5 separate regions of the Homo sapiens genome follow, and regions 1, 2, 4 and 5 are each linked to region 3. Evidence: promoter capture Hi-C in human tissues and cell types (Jung and others, 2019). All regions are on one chromosome and are shown on one strand. Each heading gives the region's core, a stretch centred on a gene start or on the middle of the fragment in contact. The rest is flanking DNA. Distances are from core to core; before and after follow the strand shown.

Region 1 (5,007 bases), core at 2,400-4,899, 210 kb before region 3:
TGTCTCTCCCTTTCGCATTTTCAGCTTCCTCTTGGATTCTCCATCTCTAGTGACAAGGAAAGGCCATGTGCCATGGAACCTCAATATGCAAGTGATATCATGGGCTGAAGTGGGGCTCTTAGCAGAGCAGCATTGCTCTGCATAAAGTTGGCCCAGGGACTAGTGTGCTTAAAAAATAATAATAATTGTTTTAAAAAATCCTAAGTCACTTTTATTAAAATAACAACTTTATTACATTATAATTCAAATATAATGCAGTTCACTCATTTAAAGTGGTTATTTACACCCATTCAATGGTTTTTAATGAATTCACAGAGTTGTACAACCATCACCACGATTTTAGAACACTCTCATCAGCCCCAAAGAAAACCCTTATCCATTTGCATCTTCCTTTCATTTTCACTCCTTTGCAGCACTATTTATCTCATTTCTCTTTCTCACCTCTCCGGCTCCATCTTATTCTCTTTTTCTGATCCTTCTCTTCCTGCTTGCTTCTCTTCTTAGGTTCTTTCTTTTCCTTGCAAATGGTGAATGCAACTCTTGGTCTAGGCATTGTTCATTGCTAAGGAAGAAAAGGAGGGCAGAGGAGAGATAGGACCTGGGGGGTGGGAGGAAGGGGAACAAAGGGGTATAAGGAGGAAAGGAACCATTTATACACAGGTCTGAGACCAGCTGGAAATGGGCATGAACAAAATTCCACGAACACACAGAAAATTAGAAAATGAGAATGCGTCTATCCAGCACTTTCCTCCTCTCTTACCCTTGTTCTTTTATTACTCTACAAAATAGTAACTGTAGGCAGACAAGTGATGCTCATGTATAGCTGTCATTGACCATGTCCTCTCTGATGCATACAGAAACCACACATACATGTGTACACCCACATGCACACACTCACATCCTGCACAATACACATGTACAACCACCTGCAAACACACCACACACATACACATGTGCACCCACATGTACACACCCACCCCCCCATGCCACACATACAACCCCCCACGTACACATGTACACCCACATACACACACCACACATATACATGTACACCCATGTGCACACAGCCACACACCCCGCACACGTGTACAACCACATGTACACACCCACCCACCCATGCCACACATACAACCCCCCACATACACATGTATACATGTGGATACACACACATATTCACATGCACACACACATGCAGCCCCCACACATACATGTGTCCACTGACATGCACGCACACACGCATACAGACACCACACACGAGAGAGAGAGATACAAAAGCAGACCAGGTATGTGTATGTGTGTGTAAAAACTGACTCTCATAAATGTACAGATGACATTTCCAAAATAATGGTAAGTGCAACATATTTTCACTCTACTACCAGTGGATTAAATTTTGAAACTCAATAGGGGTCTGAGATGTAAATGGCATTAGAGTTTCCCGTTAGAAGCAGAGACACTCCCAGCCTGGGAGGGAGTATGTAGACTGAGTTATTATACTTCACCACAAAGTTGTTTTAAATCATATCTGTGGGCCATTAGTAAATAACTGTGTTAAGGCACGTCCTTGGCTCTACAGACTGATGCCATCCACTCCTCCTTCACCCCGTGTGCGAGTCCACCTCGGCCTGCCCTGGTCCAGATCCAGAGTCTATCAGCCCCAGTGCACGTGGGCTGACAGATGACTCAGTGCCTGGAGGGTGCACTGACCTTCCACTTCTCTTTTATTTAAGGGAAAAAGGAAATATTAGAAAAAGACCAAATGAAAGTTTGAAGAAGTAATGAAAATCTCTCTCATTTTTAAATAAAGAGAGGATCGGGGACCCATAGTTGTTAGGGATCCTCTGCATGTTGAGACTCTCCCTGGCCTCCTGGCATCTTCTGGGGTGCACGGGCAGCTTCCAAGGGGGCTGTGAGCTCACTGACAGATCTGCTGGTTTTGTGTAGGTTTGCACGTGGGCATTTGTTTAGCCAGGGGCTCCACAATGTTCAGCAGATTCTCACAAGGATTTTGACCCCAAACAGGCTCTGGAATGGTATTAATGAATCATTCAGAAAGGGCCTCCAAGAAGAGCATGTAGCCTATTAGAGGGGTGCTCAGGCCAGCAAAGGGGCAGGGACGTCCTGGACAGCTACTGTGTCACCCACAGGGCTGTCACTGGTGCCCAGGAACTTGGAGTTGATTATCCTAGAAACGAGAAATGCAAGCCTCATAACAATGGTTATGACAATGACTAAATCTGTCTACATACATGCACACACATAATGCCTGCGCACATGGTATAAAAAAATAAAATCAGAAGGAAACAGAAAAACGTTTCTTAAAAAGTGGTCCAGTCTTGATCTAAATTCATGGTTAAAAATTGGTCCACTATTGATCTAAAAGATATTGGCCATTTTTCAGAGAAAAGATCATGTGATCTATTGAGAAAGAGACTGCATGTTATAAAACCAAAAAGAAATCCTGATGTACCTTCACTAGTTTTCTTCCTCCAGACCATCCCTACCTTAAACTCCCTCTAAAAGTACACATCTGCATAGACTCATAGTCCCTTGAAAGTCTCAATTCAGCCATTCCTTGGTACCCATAGGACATTGGTTCCAGGACCCTGGAGAATACCAATATTTGAAGATGCTCAGTCCCTTATATAAAGTGGTGTAGTATTTGCCTATAACATATACATATTCTTCTGTACACTTTAAATCATCTCTAGATTCCTTGTAATACCTACTATAAAGTAAATGCTAAGTAAATAGTTGTTATACTATATTTGTTTTTTTGTGTTATTTTTAATTGTTTGAGTTTCTTTTTCAAAGATTTTTTATCTGTGGTTGGTTGAATCTGAGGATGTGGAGAGCCACATGTACCCCAAAAAGCAAAAGAGGGGGCCCTCAGAAGGCCCAGAGGAGGAGAAATGGGACAGGCATTGAGCTAGTGCTTCTGAGCTCTAGAAATGCCCTGAGATTGACTGTTTCAATTAATTTTTTTTTAATGGATGGACTCCTAGTCAGTGACTCTAGCTGTGAAATCCCATTCTATAAAATCATGATGAGAGCAGTTCATGGTCCTGAATAATATATATTATTGCAAATTGGACCTAGTTCCAGTCTTCATAGATTGTATAACTAACACATCTAGAGAGCTTAATATACCAGCTTATCCACACAGATTTGCCAACAACACATGCAACTGGAAAATTTCTATTGTAACTGTTTTTTTATAGACAGTTTTTTAAATTGACGAATTTAAAGACAAAAGAAAACTTTTTCTGCTGTTTTGAATATTATTTCCCCTCAGTGCCAGGCACAAGTCCCACATCCTCCTGGAGTCTTCCCCTGGCTGCAGTGATGTTGTTCATGTCTGAAAGTATCTTTAGACTAAGGCATATGTGCTCGACCATTTATGGCTGTCATTAACTATCCACAACCTGGACTGCAGTTGGAGACCAGGGACCATGCGTGACACTCCTGTTTTAGTTAGTGTAGCAAGGGCTGAGAGTCTCCTTGCTCAAATTAGATGAGAACCCCACTCCAGGAGTGTGTTGCAAGTGACGTAGATGGGGGAGGAAGCCTCTTCAGACCAGCTCCTTCCTGTTGGCATGGCACGCGATTTTTGGGGGAGCTCAAGTGGTTAATCCTGTTTCTCACTTGTCACTTGGGCAAAGTAAACAAGGTACAAAGTAAACAAGTGGTGTTCGGTAAAACCTTTGGAGATTTCCAGGCAATATTAAATAGATACACGAAATGTGCAGTGGCCAATCTGTGAGCAGGCTGAAACTTTGAGAATGCATCTATCTTCTGCTTCAGCCACAGGCATCTGCTGGTGGTGCCCCAAAAGTCATCTTCATGTCCGAGTTTTCTACCTCTGCTCACCTGCAGAATGAATCCAGAATTATATGGCAGTCCTGTCACTTAAAATGTTAGTAACAACGTTTATTATCTTAGCTCCACATCAGCATCTCTGCCCTCCCATCTTTATCATCACACTCATGAGTTTCCATTCCATTGTTTTCTTTAACAACTCCCAAATTTATTAAGCTTCCAAGTACCACTATTTTTGTAGAGTGTGTTCAGATCCAACAACTCCTTCTGTTGCAGCCACTTACCCAGACCGCCTGCATGCTGTCCAGGTCCTGTCCCCATCCCTCAGGCTGCTCCTCACAGCCCGCGCAGTGAGGATGATCTTCCAGACCGTTGTCTAGACACTTTCCCAATTCGAGAGCCAACTGAATCTGTGATCAGTTGAGCTCCTAGCCAGACATTGTCCTCTGGTCCCCATCACAAGGAAGGGTCCTTCCCAGGCCCACCCCTCAGCCCATTGGCTCTGTCTCCTCTCTTGAACTGATTGAGGCTAGTCCTATTTCAAGAACCTGCCTCTGCCTCCTCTGCAGCAAACTAGGAAACAACAAGGGCGGCAACAGGAGCAATTTTATGAAAACTTAACTTCTTTATATTATATTTATTTAATGAAATAATGTGCACTATTAATGAAATCATAAGCACTATTCTAATGCCTGGTTTTATATTAAATGCTTAATAAGTATATATGCCTATTGTTATGATATATCATTTTTAAACATATACATAATTATAATAAACAGCAATATTTGCCTACATTTGCCTTTCAGGTTTGTAATTCACATTTTTTGTAGTCCCCAGGTCAAAGCCCCTTGAGGTGGGACCCTTGCCATATTTGGGGCACCACATCCCTAGTCCAGGGCTGTGCATACAGGGACATTCTACAGAGATTTGTGGATGGATTTAAATGGCAGAGGCTTTTGCTTCCTAATCCTGACTTTAACCAAAATAGGATACTATTTGGATGCTTGTAAAGCTGTGTAAGGTAAAATGTTGTATTTGACTGGGTAGGTGCAGCTTTAGTATGTGTATATGTGGGTATGAAATATTTAAATTTCCATTTAAAACTTGCTAGGATAGAGCTTTAAAGCCTTTTTCTGGCAGAAAGTCAAGGCTCTCTCTTCTCTATTTTCTTCTCTTTTCTCAGGGTTTTAT
Region 2 (4,984 bases), core at 2,257-4,756, 170 kb before region 3:
TTAAAAGAGTTGTTAATATTTTGACCAAAATTTGTGAAGTTCGTGAAAAAAGAATTACAATTTTCCCCATTGATTATTAAGCTCAGTTTGCATGGCTTCAGCTTGCATCGTCAATTTTATACCCCCTGACTACCATGCTAAGTGAGAACTCCCTGTGTTTTATTAAGGACTGTTTCAAATATGTTCACAGGAGAAGCTGATCTGTAGTTTTCCTTCTTGTAATGTCTTCTTCATCTCGTTTTGATATTCCCTCTTTCTCCATTATCACCAAGAGTTTATGTAAGATTCACAACATTTCTTTTTTAACTGTTTAGATGAATTCACAGACAGGAAAAAAACTGAAGTTTTTTTTATTGAAAGAATTTTAATTGTAGATTCAATTTCTTTAATAGATTGAGGACTTTAGATTTTTAAAATTTCTTCTTGTATTAGTTTTTCTAGGAATTTGTATATTTCATTTAAATTTTCAAGTCTGTTGCTATTGAGTTGTTTATAATACCCTCTGATTAGCTTTTCAGTGTCTGCAGATTCTATAGTTATGTTCCTTTTTCATTCCTGAAATTGATGTTTATGTGCTTGTGCGTTTTCTCTCCCCCTCTGTCTCTCTCACTCTCTCTCTCTCTGTTTTTGCCTCTGTCTGTTTCAATTAATCCTGCTAAAGGTTTACTTATCTTTACAATGGACCAATTTTTGGCTGTGTTGATTTTCTCTAGTGTGCATTTGTTTTCTCTGTTATTAATTTCTGCTATTATATTTCTGCCTTCCTGCCTTCCACTCTCTTTGGCTTTAATTTACCGTCATTTTTCTAACTTCTTTAAATTATTACTTAGATATTTTGTTTTTAAATATGTATGTGTGTATATATATATATATATATATATATATATATATATATATATATATTTTTTTTTTTTTTTTTGAGACGGAGTCTCTCTCTCTGTCACCCAGGCTAGAGTGCTGGAGTGCAGTGGCACGATCTGGGCTCATTGCAAGCTCCACCTCCCGGGTTCATGCCATACTCCTGCTTCAGCCTCCCGAGTAGCTGGGACTACAGGGGCCCGCCACTACGCCCAGCTAATTTTTTTTTGTGTGTGTGTGTGTGTTTTTTAGTAGAGACAGGGTTTCACTGTGTTAGCCAGGATGGTCTGGATCTCCTGACCTCATGATTCACCCGCCTCGGCCTCCCAGAGTGCTGGGATTACAAGCGTGAGCCACCGCTCCCGGCCTTTAAATATATTTTAATATATGCACCTAAAACTATATTAGCGTTAATTTAAGCATGGCTTTTCCTGCATTCCATGAGTTTTGATTTGTCAGATTTCATAATAATTTAATTCAAAATATTTTCTCATTTACATTGTTTTTCTTTTATATGTGGTATGAAGAAATATACTGATTCATTTCCAGATATTTGGGGATTTTATTAACTTTTTGTTATTGATTTTGAATTTTATTCCACTGTGGTCAGAGAGTATACTCTGAGCAATTGTTAATCATACCGTTAGATCTTTATTATCTTTACTGATACATTTCTTCCTGCTTATTCATTTGATTCCTGAAAAAATGTGTTAAAGTCCTCTACTATGGTTGTGATATTACCTGGTTTTCCTTTTATTATACACATTTTTAGGCTATATTACTAGGCTCATGAAAATTAGAACATTAGAATATTAGTAATCAATTGACCCTTCAACATTTTGAAATATGTATTTTATTTCTCCAATTGCTTCTTACCTTTGTTTCCTTTGTCTGATATTAGCAGTATTATTTTGATTAGTATTTGTTTGTTATATTTATTTCCGTCCTTTTATATGCTCCATCATTGTCCTTATATTTAATGTGACACTTCCAAGTGGCGTGTGATTTTTATGTGTAAATCCAATCTAATAACAATCTTTCTTCCTTCCTTCCTTTCTTCCTTCCTCCCTCCCTCCCTCTCTCTCTTTCTCTTTCTTTCTTTCTTTCTTTCCTTTCTTTCTTTTTCTTTCTTTCTTTCTTTCTTTCTTTCTTTCTTTCTTTCTTTTTTTCTTTCTTTCTTTCCTTCCTTCTTTCTTTCCTTCTTTCTTTCCTTCTTTCTTTCTTTCTTTCTTTCTTTCTTTCTCTCTTTCTTTTTTTCCTTCTTTCTTTCTTCTTTTTCTTTCTTTCTTTTTTATGGGATCTATCTCTGTCACCCCAGACTGGAGAGCAGTGGCGTGATTATGGCTTACTGCAACCTTGGCCTCCCAGACTCAAGCAATCCTCTTACCTCAGCCTCTCAAAGTGCTGGGATTACAGGTGTGAGTCACTGCACCCAGTCAACAGGAGTCTCTTAATTGAAGGATTTAATACATTTCTATCTAATGTTATTAGTGTTAAGTTGGACTTAGGGCTACTATCTTTTTTTTTTTTTTTTTAATTGAAAGAGTCTCACTCTGTCTCCCAGCTGAAGTGCAGTGGTGTAATCCTGGCTTCCTGCAACCTCCACCTCCTGGGTTCAAGTGATTCTGATGCCTCAGCCTCACAAGTAGCTGGGATTACAGATGTGTACCACCATGCCCAGCTAATTTTTGTGTTTTTAGTAGAGACAGGGTTTCACCATGTTGGCCAGGCTGGTCTCAAACTCCTAGCCTCAAGTGATCTCCCCACCTTGGCCTCCCAAAGTGCTGGGATAACAGGTATAAGCCACTGTGTCCAGCCTATTGCTACCATCTCTATAATTGTTTTCTATTTTTCTCAGTAGTTTGTATTCAATTTTATATTTTTGCTGTATCTTTTTAAACCAAAATTCATGTGAGTATACCATTCTCCCTCTATTAGCTTGTTGTTTATTTATTTTTAATATTCTGTTAGTAGATATCCCAGCTACTACAAAATGCATCTTTATCTTTATATAGAATCATTTTTCCTCTATCTGAAAAATTATCTTTTGTACTTCATTCATAGTGTCTTCTAGTTATTATTATTTTTTTAGACAGGGTTTCACTCTGTCACCCAGGCTGGAGTGCAGTGGTGCGATCACAGCTCAATGCAGCCTCAACCTGCGGGGCTCAAGTGATCCTCCCACCTCAGCCTCTGGAGTAGCTGGGCCTACAGGTGTGTGCCACCATGCCCGGCTAATTTTTGTTTTTTTTGTTTTTTGTTTTTTGTTTTTTGTAAAGATGGGATCTCACTATGTTGCTCAGGCTTTTCTCAAACTCCTGGGTTCAAACAATCTGCCCACTTTGACCTCCCAAAGTGTGGGATTACACACATGAGCCACTGCGCTTGGCCTAGCTGATTTTTTTTTTTTTTTTGAGTAAGTTTTTCTTTGTCCAGAAATATCCTTTTTTCACCCAAACTTTTGAAGAATATTTTTACAGGTTATAGAATTCTAGATTGGCAGTTAATTTTTTTTCAGGCTTTAAATATGGTAATCCGTTGGCTTCTGACTTCTATTGTTTCTCTCAAGAAGTCAGCTGTAGCTTTATTGTGTCTGTTTGAAAGGAGTATGTCTTGGAGTGTGTCACATTTTATCTGATTACTTATAAGATTTTTCTGTTGTCTTTCATTTTTAGCAGTTTTACTATGAAGTGCCTTATATTTGTCTCTTTAGGATTCATAGTGCTTAAATCTGTGGGTGTATGGCTTTTTACCACTTTGAAAAATTTGACCATTATCTCCTCAAATATTGTTTATGCTCCATTCTCTCTCATTTCCCCTATTGAGACTCCATCTGCGAATATATTAGACTTTCTTAGTTATGTCTTAAGAGCTCTTTTCATTATTTCCCCTCCGTTTTTAGTACATGCTTCAGCCTGGATATTTTTCTAGTGGCCTATTTTCAAGATCAGTGATTCTCTCTTCAGCTGTCTCCAAACTGCTATTACACTCATGTAATTAATTTTTAATTAAATTATTGTTTATTTCTTAGTTTAGCAATTTACCTATGTATGATTTTAATAGACCTTAGTTCTTGAGTAAAATTCTCTATCTTGCCATCTAATTTTGTAAACACATTAGTCACCGTTATTTATCTGAGTCATCTTTTGCCTTTGTTATTGGAGCACTGAGTGAGTGATATCAGCCTCGCCAACTGCATGGGAGCTGGGTGAGGCTTACTGCTGCCTGCTCCTCCCCACTACCTTTGTGAACTCTTCTGTGCAGAAGAGGCAGTTATACTCCCTTCTGGAACATTAGCCCAGTGGCCTGAGAACCACCTCCCAATCCTCACAGTGGCCGCAGCTAGCCCAGCTCAAGAAGAGTCAGAGCACAGACCCGCCTAACCCTGCCCTCACTTGGTTGTGCCCCTTCACCCACCCTGGTAGCTTAACACAAAGGACATAAACTTTGGGGAACTTTATAGCCCTGCCTGTCACCTGAGGAAAAAAAAAAACAACACTTTCCTGCAGCAACTTATGGCAAGCTTAAATCCCACTGCTACTACTGCAGCTGGTTGCTCTTTTGCAAATGCCACCTCGTGGCTGGAGGCCATCCAACACAGTCCATTAAGCACCTCTAGGTAGAATGCGCCCAGGAAGGAGAAAATGACTATGTGACCTCAGATATCACCACTGCGTACAACACCCTGACTAACCAGAGGTCCTGAGCCTGTCCATGTGGCAAGTTCACTGCAATTGTAACTCTCATTTGAGAAATCCAGCACACTAAGCCTTATCTCCAACCAAGAAATCTCACAGAGTGTATGTAACTGCCCTGCCATCTCCATCAAAGATGGTGCTGGTGTACACTGCTGGGAGACTTGAAATTAGTTCACATTTCTGGATCCCTTGCAGACATTCCCCAGCATCAGCTCAAAGTGTGGTAGTCCCACTGGGTATCTAGACCCAGAAGAGCACTAACAATCACTGTGGTCTGGGTCTCAGGAAGTCTCATTCCTAGGGGAAGGGGGAGAGCATCACATCAAGGGAACATCCCATGGGAAAAAGAATCTGAATGGCAGGCCTTGAGTCCCAGATCTTTCCACTAGTGGGACGTTTCTTATAGCAGAGACACAATTGCAGTGCTG
Region 3 (4,895 bases), core at 2,300-4,799:
TTTGTTTTTTATTGGCAGAGGTATGAAAAGGGTAAGGAAGGAATGAAGAGAAGGAGTTATTTTGTATCCTGTTTTTGATCTGGGGTTGACCGTTTCTGTCTTCTTATATAGAGATGTCATACCAAGGTTTGAAGGTCCTTTCTATGAAATCTTCCAACTTCTGGTCTGAAGAATGTCTCTTGGTTGTGTTTTTGCAAATTTCTAATTTGACTACAGTGTGTCATGAGTTTGAAATCTGAGTTATTGAGCAAATTGAAATTAAAGGGTCCCGGTTAATTGCAAAATGAGCAAAGTTGCAATGGAGAAAAGTGTTTTCATTCTCATATGGAGCAAGCTTTCTGGAGTGGCATTGGACCTATGTCATCTGGGTAGGGGTAGTTCAATCACAGCAGCTGATCCTGTAAGCCTACTTCAGAGATAATAAGTACAGATACAGTTCCATGTGGATCCCAGAAAATATGAATGGAACAGGAGAGTGAGGGTATCAAGCTGGGAGATGTTAGGACCAATAAGGTGATAGCTAAGTTTAATGAGTGCTTACTACGTGCTAAGCATTAGCCTACACTGACTACACTCTTTTAATCTTTACTACAATGCTATGAATAAGGTATCAGTGTCATTATCCCCATTACAGATGGGGAAATTGAGGCAGACAAGATTAAGTAATTTAGTTAGTGGAGGAGATAAACTGGCTCCAGAACTCACAACACTAAACTACTTATTTCTGCAGCCTGCACTATCTGTGAGAGAAAGGTGTGTGCAGAGGCAGGAGGTGCTGAGCTGTTGGTATAAGCAGACTTCCCTTCTCTGGCACACTCCTGGAGACCAAGAAGGTCCTGTGTGTGCCCATGACGCTGTCTTCCCCTACGCAGCCCTGGGAGCACAGGCAGGCGAGTCAAGCACACCAGGCTAGGTTGGTGAAATGATCCAGGAAGTAAATGAGTTGTGAATAAATTATGAGACTGAATAAATTATATAAGGATTTTTTTTTAAGATAGAGCAAATGAAAGGTTGCAGGTCAGAATTTAATCCAACTAAACTAAGCTAATCTTCATCCTCTTCTCTTACTTTCCCAGGGCCTTCATTATGTTCCCTGCTACAAGGTCAGAAGGCTGTGCTGAGCTCCAAAATCTGGAGACACTAGTGAATTATTAAGACTAGGTAGTTGTAGCCTTTCAGTCCTTAGCACGGTGAAAGTGGGGTCCCACAGTCTCGGAAATCATCCAAACTGAAATGGCCAGGGAGATTAGAAGGAAAATAACGCCAGAAGGGCCAAGAGTATCCTTGTTCCTTTAAAAATAACTCTAATAACTTGAAAGCCCCTGGGAATGTATGTTGATTCTGTATTACAGAGGGGATAACGGACTCCGCTGGAAACAGATGTGATCTGCTTGATTTCCTCTGATACCATGAGCTGAAAACAAAGAAAACTACTGAACGTGATAACATTCAGGTTAAACAGTTCAAAGTTCCAAAAAGCGCAGTTTGGAAGGAAGCCTTTGAGTAATAAGCCATAAATTTTGTTGCAATCATCAACATAAGACAAAACTAGCTATGTCCCAAGGCCCTTTGTCTAGAAAAGAATTCTTTTCTTCTCCAAATCCCTCAAATGAGTTTTAAATGTGCAAATGATGGCTATAATTTACACAGAAACTTGAAACTATTAGCAGTTTAATCCACCTAAAATCCTAATGAAGTTCTGCAGTATTATTCCTGTTTGTACAGCCCAGCAAACAGAGCACAGGAACTGCCGCCCATAGACTCTGGCAGCTAGCTGTGCAATGAAATGAGACTGTAGGCCCAATCTTTGTAAAAAATACCAGATTATTATTGGGATTCAGGAGATCTGGAAGTTCAGAGCCAAAAAGGCTTTAGAAAACGACAACTAGATCTTATTATTTTTCCTTTGCAGTGATTTCTCTAAAAGGAAACAACCCAATGTGGGATTTAAAACTTTCCCTTCATTATGGTTTGTTTTCTAATAGCCTGAATCTGAGCATGAATAGGTAGGGGGAAGGCGGTGGGTTCCGGACACCCTGATCATCATTCAGATTCGTTATTTGCTTGAAAAGGGTGACAGAGGCCACCTTTCCAACAGGTGAATGCAGGGTTGCCTTTTAGAAAACACTTCTGCTTCGTTCCCTCCTGTCCCCCACCGTCTCTATCCCCATCTCTTAGATCACTGTTCACATTTATATCATTGAACTTGTAAATTGGTTGTCTTTATTGTTCTTTTTGAAAAGTGTCTGCTCTAGATTTAAGCACAAGTGAATGCTGTGTATGTGGGGAACAATCTTGTAACAGGAGCTGCGGGCAGCAGAGCCCTCCTGTGTGGGTTTTGTGGACCCCTAAGCAGCAAAACTCAGAATATATAACACCCACCACCACCAAAATATTTATCTGGATCCAAAATTTCAGACAGCACTTGCTTCATCTGCTCTTCTGTTCCTTTCTTCCTGAATCCTGGCTGCCTCATTTCAATAGATAAATGAAATCTTTCTCACTTTCTCAATACTCTTTGGGGAAATTCCACTTTGAAATTCTCTTTTCCCTGTCATTTTTACTTTACAGTTGAGAAGACAGGGATGAACTAGGAAACAGGATCTCGATCTCTTTCTCTCTCTCTCTCGCCTTCTCTCTTTTTTAAATGACGTAGGGAGTTTGGACATCCTCCCTACCCCCACCTCCCCTCTCTGATTCCAACCCTGATTCCTGATTCCTGGAGAATTATAGTTTTCCTTTTAATGCTTGCTGATTACCGCACCGGGGAGGAGCAGGAGGGGCTGCCCAAGGAAGAGCCCCGGAGCCCATTCTGATCTCCGAGGAGCCCCAGCTGCCGGGTCCCGGTCAGGCTGGTCACAAAGCCCGGCGGGGCTGGAGCGCGAGCGCATCTGGCAGAGGCTTCCAAGCGTCCCGCGGTGCGCCCGTCCCGGCGGGGGCGGCTCCACTCCGCCCGGGCCCGAGTTCGCTGGGGGACAACTTACTGTGCTTGCCGAGCGTCCACACTGCAAACTCCCAAGCGGGAGGGGGAAGAGAGCCCAGGCTGCGCCGTGCCGAGGAGTAGAGGCAACAAAAGACCGAGGCACGAGGGGAGGGAGGCAGGCACGGAGGGACCGCGGACTCTGGCCCCTAGCTCCCCGAGAGCGCCCCTCGGATGCTGCTGGGGAGACCCTCCGGGCCTCTCTTTGGGGCCTCTGGGGCCCGCGGCTCAGACAGGTAGTTGGAGGAAAGAAGAACAAAGCTGCCCGCGGAGGCAGGCGGCGGTCTCGGGGCGCCCCGGGGCGGGGAGAGCCGAGGCCGAGGAGGCACCCCGCGCCCCCTGCCCCGCGGCCCGAGCGCCCCGTGCCGGCTGCCTCCGCCGCCTCCCCTCACGCCTCCTCCTCCCCGAGGAATCGGCGCTTCCGAAGGGACGGGCGGCGGGCGGCGGAGGACGCGGGGGAGCGGGGAAGGCCGGCGGCGTGGGGGGGGGCGCCGGAGGAGGGGGTGGGGCGGGGGGCGGGGGCGGGGGCGCCCCCCGACTCCGCCGAGCCGGGCGGGCCCCGACCGCCACCCTGCCGCAATTTCCCTGTGTCATGGCTCCGGTCTCTTAGCAACAGCCGCCAGTCCGGCCGCCCCGAGCCGCCGCCGCGGGCTCAACTCCACCCGGCGGAGCCCGGCGCGCCGCAGCCACACAAAAGAGGCGCGAGGGCCGGCGGCGCGGCCGCAGGGGCCCGCCCGGGAGCGCCGCGCTAGGGGACGCCGGGAGCTGGAGGATGAGCGGCGGAGAGGAGGGCTCCGAGGCGGGATGCGGGATGCGGGATGCGGAGGACCTGACACTTCTTGGAAACTCTTGGAAATGGCTCCCGCCACAGCGCCGGCGGGGACTGCGAGCCTGGGGCGGGCGCTCGCCCCCGCGGGGCTGCTGAGTCGCGCTCGGATGCGGGGCCCCGGGGCGCTGTCCCTGCGCTCCGCCGTCGGCTCGGGCTGAAAAAGTTTCTCCATGGTTCCTTTGTGTCGCCCGAGCGCCCGTTCGCCGGCCCCGACCTCCCTCGGTCTCCCTGGGTAAGTGAGCGATCTTGCGTGCGGAGAGTGCTGCCATTTTGAGCAATTCTGCCAGTCCCCAGCCCTTGGGGGCCCCTCCCCGCCCCTCGGGTCCCCGAGTCCCCGCGCCCCGGGCTGGTGTTCGGTGAGAGGCTTTTTCCCGGGCTGGCTACACGGGATGCGCTGCCCAGAAAAAGCTAGTTCAGGATTGCCCTCACTTGGCTCCTGCCTGTCTTCTTTCCAGAGGCGGACTCCCAGCTGCTGCACTCATGTGACTCCAGCTAACATCAATAAGCAGACCAAAGCCAGGGGCCAGGGGGTCGCCGCCCTGCCAGTGAGGGGCCGGGGTCGAGGACCTGGGTTGGGTACCGGGCACAGCACAGCGCTCCCAGCCTGTGGGATCCGAGCCTCCGAGCCTCAGAGTGGGGCTTAATCCATCTTGAGCGGAGAACTTGAATGTCTCTCTTGGAAGCAGTTGTATTTTTAGACATCCCTCCTTTGCTTCCCCCATCCTCCATTCTTTAACCACGGTAAGACCAGCTCCAGGCAGTAAATTGCGAGGGCAGCCAAGCTTGACTGCTAAGTTTGTTTTCTTTCATTAGGTATAAAGGAAAACCTCAAAGGTGGGTCTCCCGTGGCATCTGACCTTTGTCTGTATTTCGTGTCAGATGATGATACATTAAAAGGGAGTACAGCCTTCAACAGAGCTGAAGGAATAATAAACGAGGGAGTTAATTACTAGCTATTAAACTCATTTTAAAGATGTGCGGTAAAGGACTGTTGAAATCCATTCCAACCTTCCTTACATTCTACCGGAGCCAAAGCTGCCTTGCTGAGGAGAAATCCAAGTGGGTTTCCTCCTCCCCCAAGGCATC
Region 4 (5,208 bases), core at 2,179-4,678, 140 kb before region 3:
AGTATTAAGGATGGCTTGGACAACTGAATAGATGGGGGTGCTTTTCACTAAGATAAGGAAGCTTGAAAAGGATTAGGTTTGGGATTTGGAGATAGCAGGAGAAGGGATGAGAATATTGAGTTACGTCTTAATGTGTACCATTTTGAGAGGCCTTTGAGAAAGCCAAGAGGAAATGTCAAGTAGCAAGGATATGGGTCAGAACCTCTGAAGTGAGGTTTGAGCGGGAGATTAACATTTGCAGATAGTGTGCACAGAGGTGGCAGTTGAACTCCTGCATCTGGATGTGATTGCTTAGCAAAAGGGTGTTCCAGAAAGGCCTAGACCTAAGACCTGAGAGACTAACACTCAAAGGCTTGGCCAAAGGAAGAAGGGTTTGACTGGAAAGGCAGGAGGAGAGGCAAAGGCCACTGTTTCCCAAGTACGGAGAGAAAAAGCTAGAGGAAAAAGAGGTCTCAGTACTGGACAATGCTGAGGGCTCATGTAGGACGGAAAACCCATTGTGTTGGATTGAATAACATTGAGGTCTTTGGGGACACTGGTGAAAGCTGTGGCAGAGTCATGGGTCAGATTGAGTGATTGAGGGTGGGGTAGGTGGGAGGTATGGAAGTGGCTGAGAAGTTCAGGGGAGAGAGGGTGAGGACTGGAGGCAGGTGTGGATTTACGTGCTTGGTGTGTGTGTATGTGTCTGTGTGTGTGCACGTATGTGTGTGTGTATGTTTTGTAAGTGAGGGCACTTAGTGTTCCAGTGTCAATGGGAAGGATCCTGGTGAGAAGGAGAGGTTGAACTTACCCAAGACAGAAGGGTCATTGAGGTCATAAGGTTTCTGAGACAACTCAAGAGATGGGATTAACCTTGGGTGGGAGGAGGAACGGCTTCTGTAAACTTTGAATTAGTGAGGTATCTCACTTTGGTGGCTTCTATTTTCTCTGTAAAGCATGAGGCCACATCCTCTGTGGGGAGGGCTTGGGGAGGTATGGCAGTTGGGGAAACCTGTATGGGAATATTGAAGGAAGCGGAAGTTCGAAATGGTTCACAGATGGCCGGGTGGTAGTTCATGCCCATAATCCCACTACTTTGGGAGGCCAAGGCAGGAGGATCACTTGAAGCCAAGAGTTCAAGACCAGCCTGGGCAACGTAGTGAGACCCCCATCCATACCAAAAAAAAAATTAGCCAGGCATGGTGGCACACACCTATAGTCCCAGCTACTCAGGAGGTTGAGATGGGAAGATCACTTGAGCCTGGGAGGTTCAGGCTGTAGTAAGCCACAGTTGTGCCATTGAACTCCCGCCTAGGCAACAGGGTGAGACCCCATCTAAAAAAAATAAAAGAAGAATGAAACAGTCCACTGGGCGCATAGAAAAGCAGGTAAACCAAAGCAAGGGTATATAGTGTGGCTGCGAGTGCTGGACCTCTCTGTGCTTGGTAAGCAGGAACCATTTGTGGACACGTTCTGCCTTCATGACAGCCTATGCACGCACAGGAAGAGCAGGTAGTGAGGCTCTTCCCGACTGCCATTTTTGCCAAATGATCACAAAGAAAAGACAGAGAAATAAGGGGATGTGGAGCATTTGCAAGACAAAAAAAAAAAAAAAAAAGTCAATTTCAGCCTAAGCTGAAGAAAAGGACAATGAAGAAAGAAGATTAATAGGTTGGAGAAATTAGGGGGGGCCAGTCCATTGAAGACCCCAATGGGTGCTCACCTGTTGGAAGCAAGTTGGTGAAGACGAGATGGCAGATGTGGTGGGCATGGCCTGAGATTCACTCTGCAGCATGCTCACCTGGGCAGTAAGGTAGATCCAGAAGCGGCTGGCTCCACAGCTGCAGGCCCAATGGCAGGGATCTCCTGGTTCCACCACTGATAGACTGCATGTACTGGGCAGTCCGCCCCCATCTCCAGACCTTAGTGTCCTTGCTGAGATTTGGGGCCAGCTATGCCATCTTTTCAGGTTGGGAGGATTGAATAATGTGATAGAGGTGAAACAGCACAACCCCTGACTCCTGATTGGGAATCTGTCAAAAGTGTCAGCCACTGCTATTTCTTTGTTGTGACACATTTTCTGAACAGATCACAAGTTTTGCTGTTGTTCTTGTTTTACTTTTTTAAATTCTAGGAATCAAGGCAAAAAACAACTCAAATTTTATAGAAATTATGTGATTTGTAAATATATTATTATGTTGACTTAATCTCCTCCCCTGTGACCCTACAACTGAGAGTGGAGAGCAGAAGGCCAGCCATGGGAATGGCAGGATAAGGGTCGAGTGGAGCCAAGAATAGGATGGTTTAGGGGCTTGCCACCTTCAGGTGTCTCTCTTTCTCAGACTAGGACTAATGTAGGTTCTTTTCATAAACCTTGAAATGAAGGTTTCAAGCACTGAGTGACTTAAGCCACTCAAAGGACTCCTTGTCTCAAAAGAGATGTGAGTAAAAAGTTTACTCATTTAGGTTTATGTACTTGTCTATCACCCACACTCAACAGAGATGGGACTGAATTATATTTATCTTTGTATATACAGACCCACGGCAGGTACTCAGTAATTGTTTGCAGTATGGAGTAGACTGTAATTAGTAAAGTTTTTGGTTCTGTAATGGATTGGTGCAGGATATCTCTATCTCAATGCTATAGACATTTTGGGTCAGATAATTCTTAATTATTGGAACAGGATATATAGCAGCATCCCTGGTTTCTACCCGCTAGATGCCAGAGGCAACCCTCCCACCCCAAGATGTGACAACCAAAAGTGCTTCTGGATATTGCTGAATATCTCCAGGATGAAGGGGACAAAATTGCTTCTGGTTGAAAGACCACTGGTTTAGAGGAAATCTTTAATGTGATCTCTTGTGTTGAATTTTTAAAAGTTTATTTATTTATTTGCACAGGAAAAAAAAATGAACTACAATTCAAAATACCTTGCAGGGTATATTTCTGAGAAGTAAGATTCCAAGTATTTTTAATTTCTTTCTATATTCTTCTGGCCTTTTGAAATTTCTCATGTTTCCTACTGTACATGCATTACTCTTATAAGTTGAAAGGGAGAGAATGAAAAAAGTTTAATATTTGAAAACGAGTTTTTGAAAATACATAATTTTTCCTGCTATCCTGACATTCTCGATAATCATATTACTTAAGCTAATGAACATTGTGTTATTTTTATTATTGTAAGTTTTGTTTCATCGTCTAATTTTTCAGATACTTTTACTTATTTATTTCAATCAGCAGTATCATAATCAACTATTAATTCTAGTTCTAGATATTGGTACAAAGTCATTGGTTAGCCAGGCACTGGAGTTTAGTTTCAAAGACACTTGACCCTTTTCTAGAAAGGCGGAAGCTTACCCAGCATGAAGGGACTTTGAGATAACCACGCTGGTCAAGTGTCACTGTGAGAGGCTTAGGGCCCAGGAAACAGGATGGAAGAGGGTATGCGTGTATGTGTGTGCATAAATCCACTGGCATACTTAATTTTTAAAATATCAGTCAACTAAGAGAATCTGCACAACTCCAAATAAGAGAAATATCCAAAAGAAAGGATCTAGGGCACTCTTTCCTTACCCTTTCATTTGCATTGGTTTAAATTGGGGGAAACTCAAAAAGTGAAGGCTCTTTTCTTTAGCACAGACATTCAGAAAGGGATTGGGGTGAATAGTCCTTAGAGAATATGTGGGAAGATAAAGAGCCGACTCTAGCATTAAAATGTGGGTGGAGCAGCGTATTTTCTTTTTAAAAGCAGAGAAAATTTTCTTATTTTTCCTTCAGTGTTTTAATCACAGGCAATCCTAGATAGCAACTGTATTAGTCAGCTCAGGCTGCCAAGACAGAATACCACAGTCTGGGTGGCTTTATCAACAGAAATTTACTTTTCACAGTTGTGGAGGCTAGAAGGTCAAGATCACAGTTTGGGGAGGGTAGGTTTGATTCTGGGGCCTCTTCTCTTGGCTTGTAGACTACTACCATCTGTCTGTGTGCTCCTGTGACCTCTTCTTTGTATGTGTATGCATGGGGCTGGGGGAGAGAGGGTTGGGGAAGAGGGAGGAAGGGAGGTTGGGGGAGAGAGAAAGAAAGAGAGAGAGTAGGTGCTCTCTGGTGTCTTTTCTTATAGGGCACTAATCCCATCATGAGGGATCCACCCTTATGACCCCATATAACCCCTAATTTCCTTCCCAAATCCTCATCTCCAAAAACCGTAGGGGGTTAAGATTTCACCATATGAATTTTGGGGGAACACAGACATTCAATCCACAATACCTAATTAATGATAACATGCAAAAATGGGTGACAAAATTGCTAATTATTTATGAGGCAAAGACTGTCAAGTTTTCTCTTGAATAATATTTGTAGTTCAGTGGAATGTAGGCATTTTTGTTGTTGTTGTTTTTTATTTCTCTTAGATGCCTCCTCACATTGCTGCACTATACTTCTTAACAGAAGTGCCGCTCTCCCCCATCAATGTTGCTGTCTTTTACTAGGATCACCAAGTCAGGTTACCAGTCAAAAAATGATCCAGAGGCCAGGTGCAGTGGCTTATGCCTGTAATCCCAGCACTTTGGGAGGCCGAGGCAGGAGGATCATGAGGTCAGGAGATCGAGACCATCCTGGCTAACACAGTGAAACCCCGTCTCTACTAAAAATACAAAAAAGTTAACCGGTCGCGGTGGCGGACGCCTATAGTCCCAACTACTCCGGAGGCTGAGGCAGGAGAATGGCGTGAACCCGAGAGGCGGAGCTTGCAGTGAGCCGAGATTGCATCACTGCACTCCAGCTTGGGCGACAGAGCAAGACTCTGTCTCAAAAAAAAAAAAAAAAAAAAGATCCAGAAATGGATTTCTAGTATCCTCTAGAATTTTTTTCTGGTATCTCTGTTAAAAATATGTCTAAGTAAGTTATTTTATCTGCATCAATATTGATTAAATCTCATTGTGACATAAATATTCAATCAGTATCCCTGCCCTTCTCTCTCTGTCATTGAACTAGAACATTACACAGATACTTCCCACTCCTTTTTTATCCACTTATCTTAACCTGTTCCAAAGTACGTATTCTCCTGTCTGTGGGTGCAAGAGTTATTTCACCCCGTTATCCTCTCTCCAAGTTATCCTATCAACTTCTTTCTTCCCAGTGCCAATTACTCATCAGGAGCCTACTCCTCCTTTTATTTCCCTGTTCAGAGCAACCAGCACTTTAATACATTAGCCAAACATCTAAATATT
Region 5 (4,741 bases), core at 154-2,653, 190 kb before region 3:
TCATATTTAGTCTTACTTTCTACTGATGTCTAGGATTCTCAGAGTCACCTTATGATGCGTCTGTTTCTTATTTTGTGAAAATAGAACCTGCACGTTCTGCACATATACTCCAGAACTTAAAGTTTAATAATAATAATAGAACTACTGAAGGGAAGAATCTTACCATGTTTTCCCCAAACTGATGTTTCTTATTTATACTATATATAATACAAAATGTCCGTCTTGAGCACGTTTTATTATAGTATACTAAAGGCTTCTACCTGCAACAAGAGAATATAATGAGTCATTAAAACATTTTCATCATAAAGAAAATTACTTTGGAATGCAGCTCCCCTCTACTCCCCATATTGTCTATTAGCTGGTTTCCCCAGGCCTGAGGGGGACTTTTTTTTCAGGCATTTTTTTACCTGCCTAAGTGTTCTTTAATAACTTCCTTTGCCTCCCAGAAGCATTGTTTAATATATTCTAATTCACACAATTGATAGCACCACCATTCGTTAAAATACCTGTCATATTCTATCATTGCTATTAAGAAAATCTAAGAAAATGCCTAATAAAGCTCACTTTGTTTTTCCTGATGCCTGCCATATTATAAATTTCACGCACTTTTTGAAAGCTAATATTAGTAATAAAAATGCCTGGGGAAAATTGTGGTAATCAGAAAGGATGGCATGTAGTGGAATAGTTCCTTAATGATCTTGGTGATAAACTGCACTGCCATGAGCCAACTAGTTTATTTTGGCTGCAACATAAGTACCTTCTATGATCTCCACCCTCAGAATTATAACAATGTTAGTTGGTTGTCCCACACATTCACCTTCCAAGTGAGTAAATAGGTTCTTTAATCCACCAGCCTTTTTCTCACTTCTTACTTTCACTTTCTCACTCCTCAATTTCACTTTCTCTCAATTCTCTGCTTTGGGAGGTAGAGTCTACTTACTGGCCCCACTCACTCCCCATCATCGCCTGCAGTGTTGTTTTCATTCCTGCACTGTGCCTTTGTTTCCTTTCTTGGTACCTCATTTACTCCTGCCTGCATCTCCTCCCTTTCCCACGGCTCACCTCTCTCTTGGAGTTCTGTGGCAGTTCCAATCTGTAAGAGCTTCTTGAAGTTGGAGTTTGTGTTTTATGTGTCTCTCTATTTCTAACACTTATTGCAATACCTGACACATACTAGACACTCAACAAGTTAAATAGATTTTGAGCAACCTACTAGGTGCCAAGGATGGTGGCCAGCCCTGAGAGGCCAGTCCTATCCTTGCTAAGTCCAGTCCAGTCCTATCCTTGCTAAGGCCAGTCCTATCCTTTCTCAGAGCCAGTCCTATCCTTGCTCTCAGCATCCCTCTCTCCTTTTGGTCCACACCACATATCAGCAGCTTATTTGTGTGTCTGCATGTACCTTTTTAATAGTTTGTTGTGCATATGCCATGTCTTCTCAAAAAGACTATAGGCTGCTAAAGGGAAGAAACAATTTATGCTTTTGCTTTTTCTTCTTTATGTTTCACATTATAGATCTTTAGTGTACCTAAGTTGATTGATTTCATCATATACATCTGTTTTTCTCTTAGAGTCTCCATTCCTTCACCTGTAAAATGGTCATAAATGTGAGGCTTATATAAGATTTAGAGTATAGGAATATAGATGTAGGTAGATATAGACATTGATATTGCTATAGATATATGAATGGGCCTGGCACATAGAAGAGACTATTGAAATAATAGTTCCATGTCTTTTCTCCATTTTTATGAAAACCATTGATTTTAAAGTCTTGCAGTTGGACCAGTTCTAGCGGTGTGTATATCACACACCTCAACACCAACCACAGGAATTTAGACCTTTATTTATTTGGTCTAAGATAATACTCAGTATCTATAACTAAATTAAGCCCCTTAATCAAGAAAGTAGTGATCAAAACACCATGACAAACCAGAGTTCTTCTTGCCCTATAGGGGGTTTTGGCTGGACAGGAAATCCCAAGGCCTTTCAGAGCAGCCCCCCTCCAGCTCCCCACCTCCACTCAGACTCTGAGGAGCCACTAGCCAGGCATGACAACCTAGGAGCTCTACGGAGGGAAAGGACTCAAGAGATTAATTCAACTTCTGCAATGTGGAGACAAGGACACCAATGCCAAAGAATTTTGCTATTTCATCAGCACTGTTGATGGTGGCCCCTTTGAGCCCTCTGACTCCCAGCTCATTGCTCTCCTCACTGTTCCATACCACCACCTGCCCTAGAATTAAGATGCAGTCAGAATGGAATTTGGTTTTGGTATGTAGTTAGCTGACTAACACTTATCTTGCTGAATTCAGCACCGTGACCATAGCCAGGTCCCGAAATTAGACATATTCATTCATTCAACCTTTGTCTGTTGAATAAATATTTAGAAAATACTGTTCCAAACTCTAGTGATAGAGCAGGGAACAAAACAGACAAAAATCCTTGTTCTTATCAAGCTTTTCCTTGGTGATAAGAAAATCACCCAAACTAGTAAGTGTCAGGACAAGGATTTGAACTTAGGTGGGATGGCTCCTGTCTGTGCAGACTTGGCAGTAGGCATGCTGATTCGCTCATGACATCGATATTCATTCACTCCACAAGTATGTGTGGAGCTGCTGCTGTTGCCAAGTGGTGTGTTAGGTGCTAGGGATGTGGAGGTGAGCAAACCAGTTCCATCTTTGTGTGGAGCCAATTTTCAGGTAGGGGAGATGGAAGAGGAATAAAGAAAGCAAACCATAAATGAAGAGAAAATCACAGTTGGTTGACAGGTGCCATAGGGAAGTAATGCGGAGTAGAAAGGGTGATGCTCAAAATGTTTTCAGTAATCACCTATCATAAAGGGCCCAGCCACTAAGGGAAAAAAGGTTCTGTTGAATATTGTGCATATGGAAAACGAAATGAGTTGTGCCCGGATCAGCTCAGGGGCATGGAGAGGATCTGGGATGAGATGGAAGGGCCCAGCTCTTGCCAGTCTCCACCTGCCTCACTTTTTAGGCACCTCACTGGAGTCTCTAGAGTCTTGTATTTCCTAAATGAATGTACAGTTATGCTGAAACGTTATGAAATAACCCATGGATGCCATGCCATGTCTTCAAAATATTTTTCCGAGCTGATTCTCGTAAAGAATTTTAAAATTTATTCTTAATCTCTGGATTTCTGGAATCCTGCCTTGGCTCAGGCTTTCAGTGACTAAATGCCACAGAACAGTGTGTCCTACAATGTCCACAGCAACTTGTGTAGAGGAAATATTAGTGTTCCCGCACCCCAGAAAAATAAAACCTTGCAGCCTGAGCACCAGCAAGCATTTTATCATCTGTATACTTAACCTGGTTTGAAAATAATTATTTCTTACTCATTGTAAAGAGTAAAGTGGGACTTTAACATGATCTTTTTCTCATTATTACAGCAGTACTTGCTTATTATGGGAAAAGAAAAAATACAGTTGAGTAGAAAGAAGAAAATAAAAACTAAAAACATTAACAATATCCACACCTTTTTCTATCAAACAGCATAACATATAGATGTTTGGAAAAATATAAGAAAATGTCCACCTTAATAATTCCAGTAATGTAGAAGTTTTAAGAAATTAAGAATTTCTCATTCTCCACTCCTAACTCTGATGCTGCATGCTTAGGTCACTAGGGTTAACAGATTGCCACCTGTTCTCTGTACCTTTTTGATGTTCATGTATGCACATGTGTATGTAGATGTATGTATTAGTCCATTTTCATGTTGTTATAAAAAACTGCCTGAGACTGGGTGCTTTATAAAGGAAAGAGGTTTAACTGACTTACAGTCCAGCATGGCTGGAGAGGCCTCAGGAAACTTACAATCATGGTGGAAGGCAAAGGGGAAGCAAGGCACCTTCTTCACAGGGTGTCAGGAAGGAGAATGAACACAGGAGGAACTACCAAACACTAATAAAACCATCAGATCTTATGAGTACTCACTATCATGAGAACAGCATGGGGAAACTGCCCCCATGATTTAGTTACCTGCACCTCGTCTCTACCTTGACACATGGGGATTATAAGGATTACAATTCAAAATGAGATTTGGGTGGGAAACCACAGCCTAACCATATCAATGTACATTCACTCTTTTAAAATAATTTATATTAACATTTTGTTAATCTGCAATGTGTTTTATTTCATTTAACAATATGTCATGGGTAAATTGTCATATCAACACAAACAGACCCAATGCATTATTTTTAACAACTGCATTGTATTCCATGGTGTAGGCATACCGAACTCATTCAACCATTCCCCTAATGACCATGGTTTCCAGTATTTCTCCTCTTGTAAATAATGCTGCAGTAAACATTTTCATATGAATATTATGGAACTTATTATTTGCTGATGCTTTTTACTGCTATATTTTAAAAGGGTTCATTACTTTTTATTTGCAAACTAAACATACTGTATGAATCCTCAAATTGATAGAATCTCACAGGTCATTGGTCCATTTTGCTTGACTGAGAATAAATAAATTCGCATATCCAAACCTACACACATGCGTGGGAACATAGAAAGCTTGTGCAGGCCCCATAATTTGTCCTAGCTCCACGTCTTACCTCATTGCACACCACACCCCATTGCTAATTCTCCTCACCCACACTCGCCCTCCACCTGCAGTGGCCCTCTCTGTGTTTCCTGTGATAAAATTTGTATTGAGGCCCAGTTCAAACTCATCTCCTGAAGGCTTTTTCTACCATCTCTCACCTTGTATGCAGAAAATGTCC

Evidence for each region. Contacts are between HindIII fragments. The study calls those that stand out against the background at their distance.
Region 1: a contact is called between a fragment that was not itself captured here and the fragment with the promoter of TMEM200C in region 3, in 2 of the 25 tissues and cell types used here (IMR-90 fibroblasts and lymphoblastoid cells).
Region 2: a fragment that was not itself captured here is called in contact with the fragment with the promoter of TMEM200C in region 3 in 3 of the 25 tissues and cell types used here (bladder, dorsolateral prefrontal cortex and lymphoblastoid cells).
Region 4: a fragment that was not itself captured here is called in contact with the fragment with the promoter of TMEM200C in region 3 in 2 of the 25 tissues and cell types used here (H1 embryonic stem cells and mesendoderm cells).
Region 5: a fragment that was not itself captured here is called in contact with the fragment with the promoter of TMEM200C in region 3 in 2 of the 25 tissues and cell types used here (IMR-90 fibroblasts and spleen).

Annotation. Positions count from the first base shown.
Region 1 is chr18:6,106,583-6,111,589 of GRCh38, reverse strand. All of the region lies in intron 14 of L3MBTL4 (L3MBTL histone methyl-lysine binding protein 4), which reads left to right. Among named protein-coding and RNA genes, the nearest start is that of L3MBTL4-AS1, 150 kb to the left of the region's middle. The HindIII fragment of the contact is 6,013 bases long and covers 643-5,007 here.
Region 2 is chr18:6,068,801-6,073,784 of GRCh38, reverse strand. All of the region lies in intron 16 of L3MBTL4 (L3MBTL histone methyl-lysine binding protein 4), which reads left to right. Among named protein-coding and RNA genes, the nearest start is that of TMEM200C, 180 kb to the right of the region's middle. The HindIII fragment of the contact is 5,309 bases long and covers 852-4,984 here.
Region 3 is chr18:5,894,176-5,899,070 of GRCh38, reverse strand. TMEM200C (transmembrane protein 200C) reads left to right here and starts at 3,549. Exons shown (of 2, transcript NM_001395400.1): 1 at 3,549-4,041. The region is part of intron 9 of MIR3976HG (MIR3976 host gene); the gene reads right to left. It overlaps LOC121725015 (a long non-coding RNA gene), which reads right to left and starts at 3,344. Exons shown (of 3, transcript NR_172505.1): 1 at 2,985-3,344. The HindIII fragment of the contact is 12,914 bases long and covers 1-4,895 here.
Region 4 is chr18:6,037,852-6,043,059 of GRCh38, reverse strand. The region is part of intron 16 of L3MBTL4 (L3MBTL histone methyl-lysine binding protein 4); the gene reads left to right. Among named protein-coding and RNA genes, the nearest start is that of TMEM200C, 140 kb to the right of the region's middle. The HindIII fragment of the contact is 3,462 bases long and covers 1,698-5,159 here.
Region 5 is chr18:6,084,773-6,089,513 of GRCh38, reverse strand. The region is part of intron 15 of L3MBTL4 (L3MBTL histone methyl-lysine binding protein 4); the gene reads left to right. Among named protein-coding and RNA genes, the nearest start is that of L3MBTL4-AS1, 170 kb to the left of the region's middle. The HindIII fragment of the contact is 4,180 bases long and covers 1-3,493 here.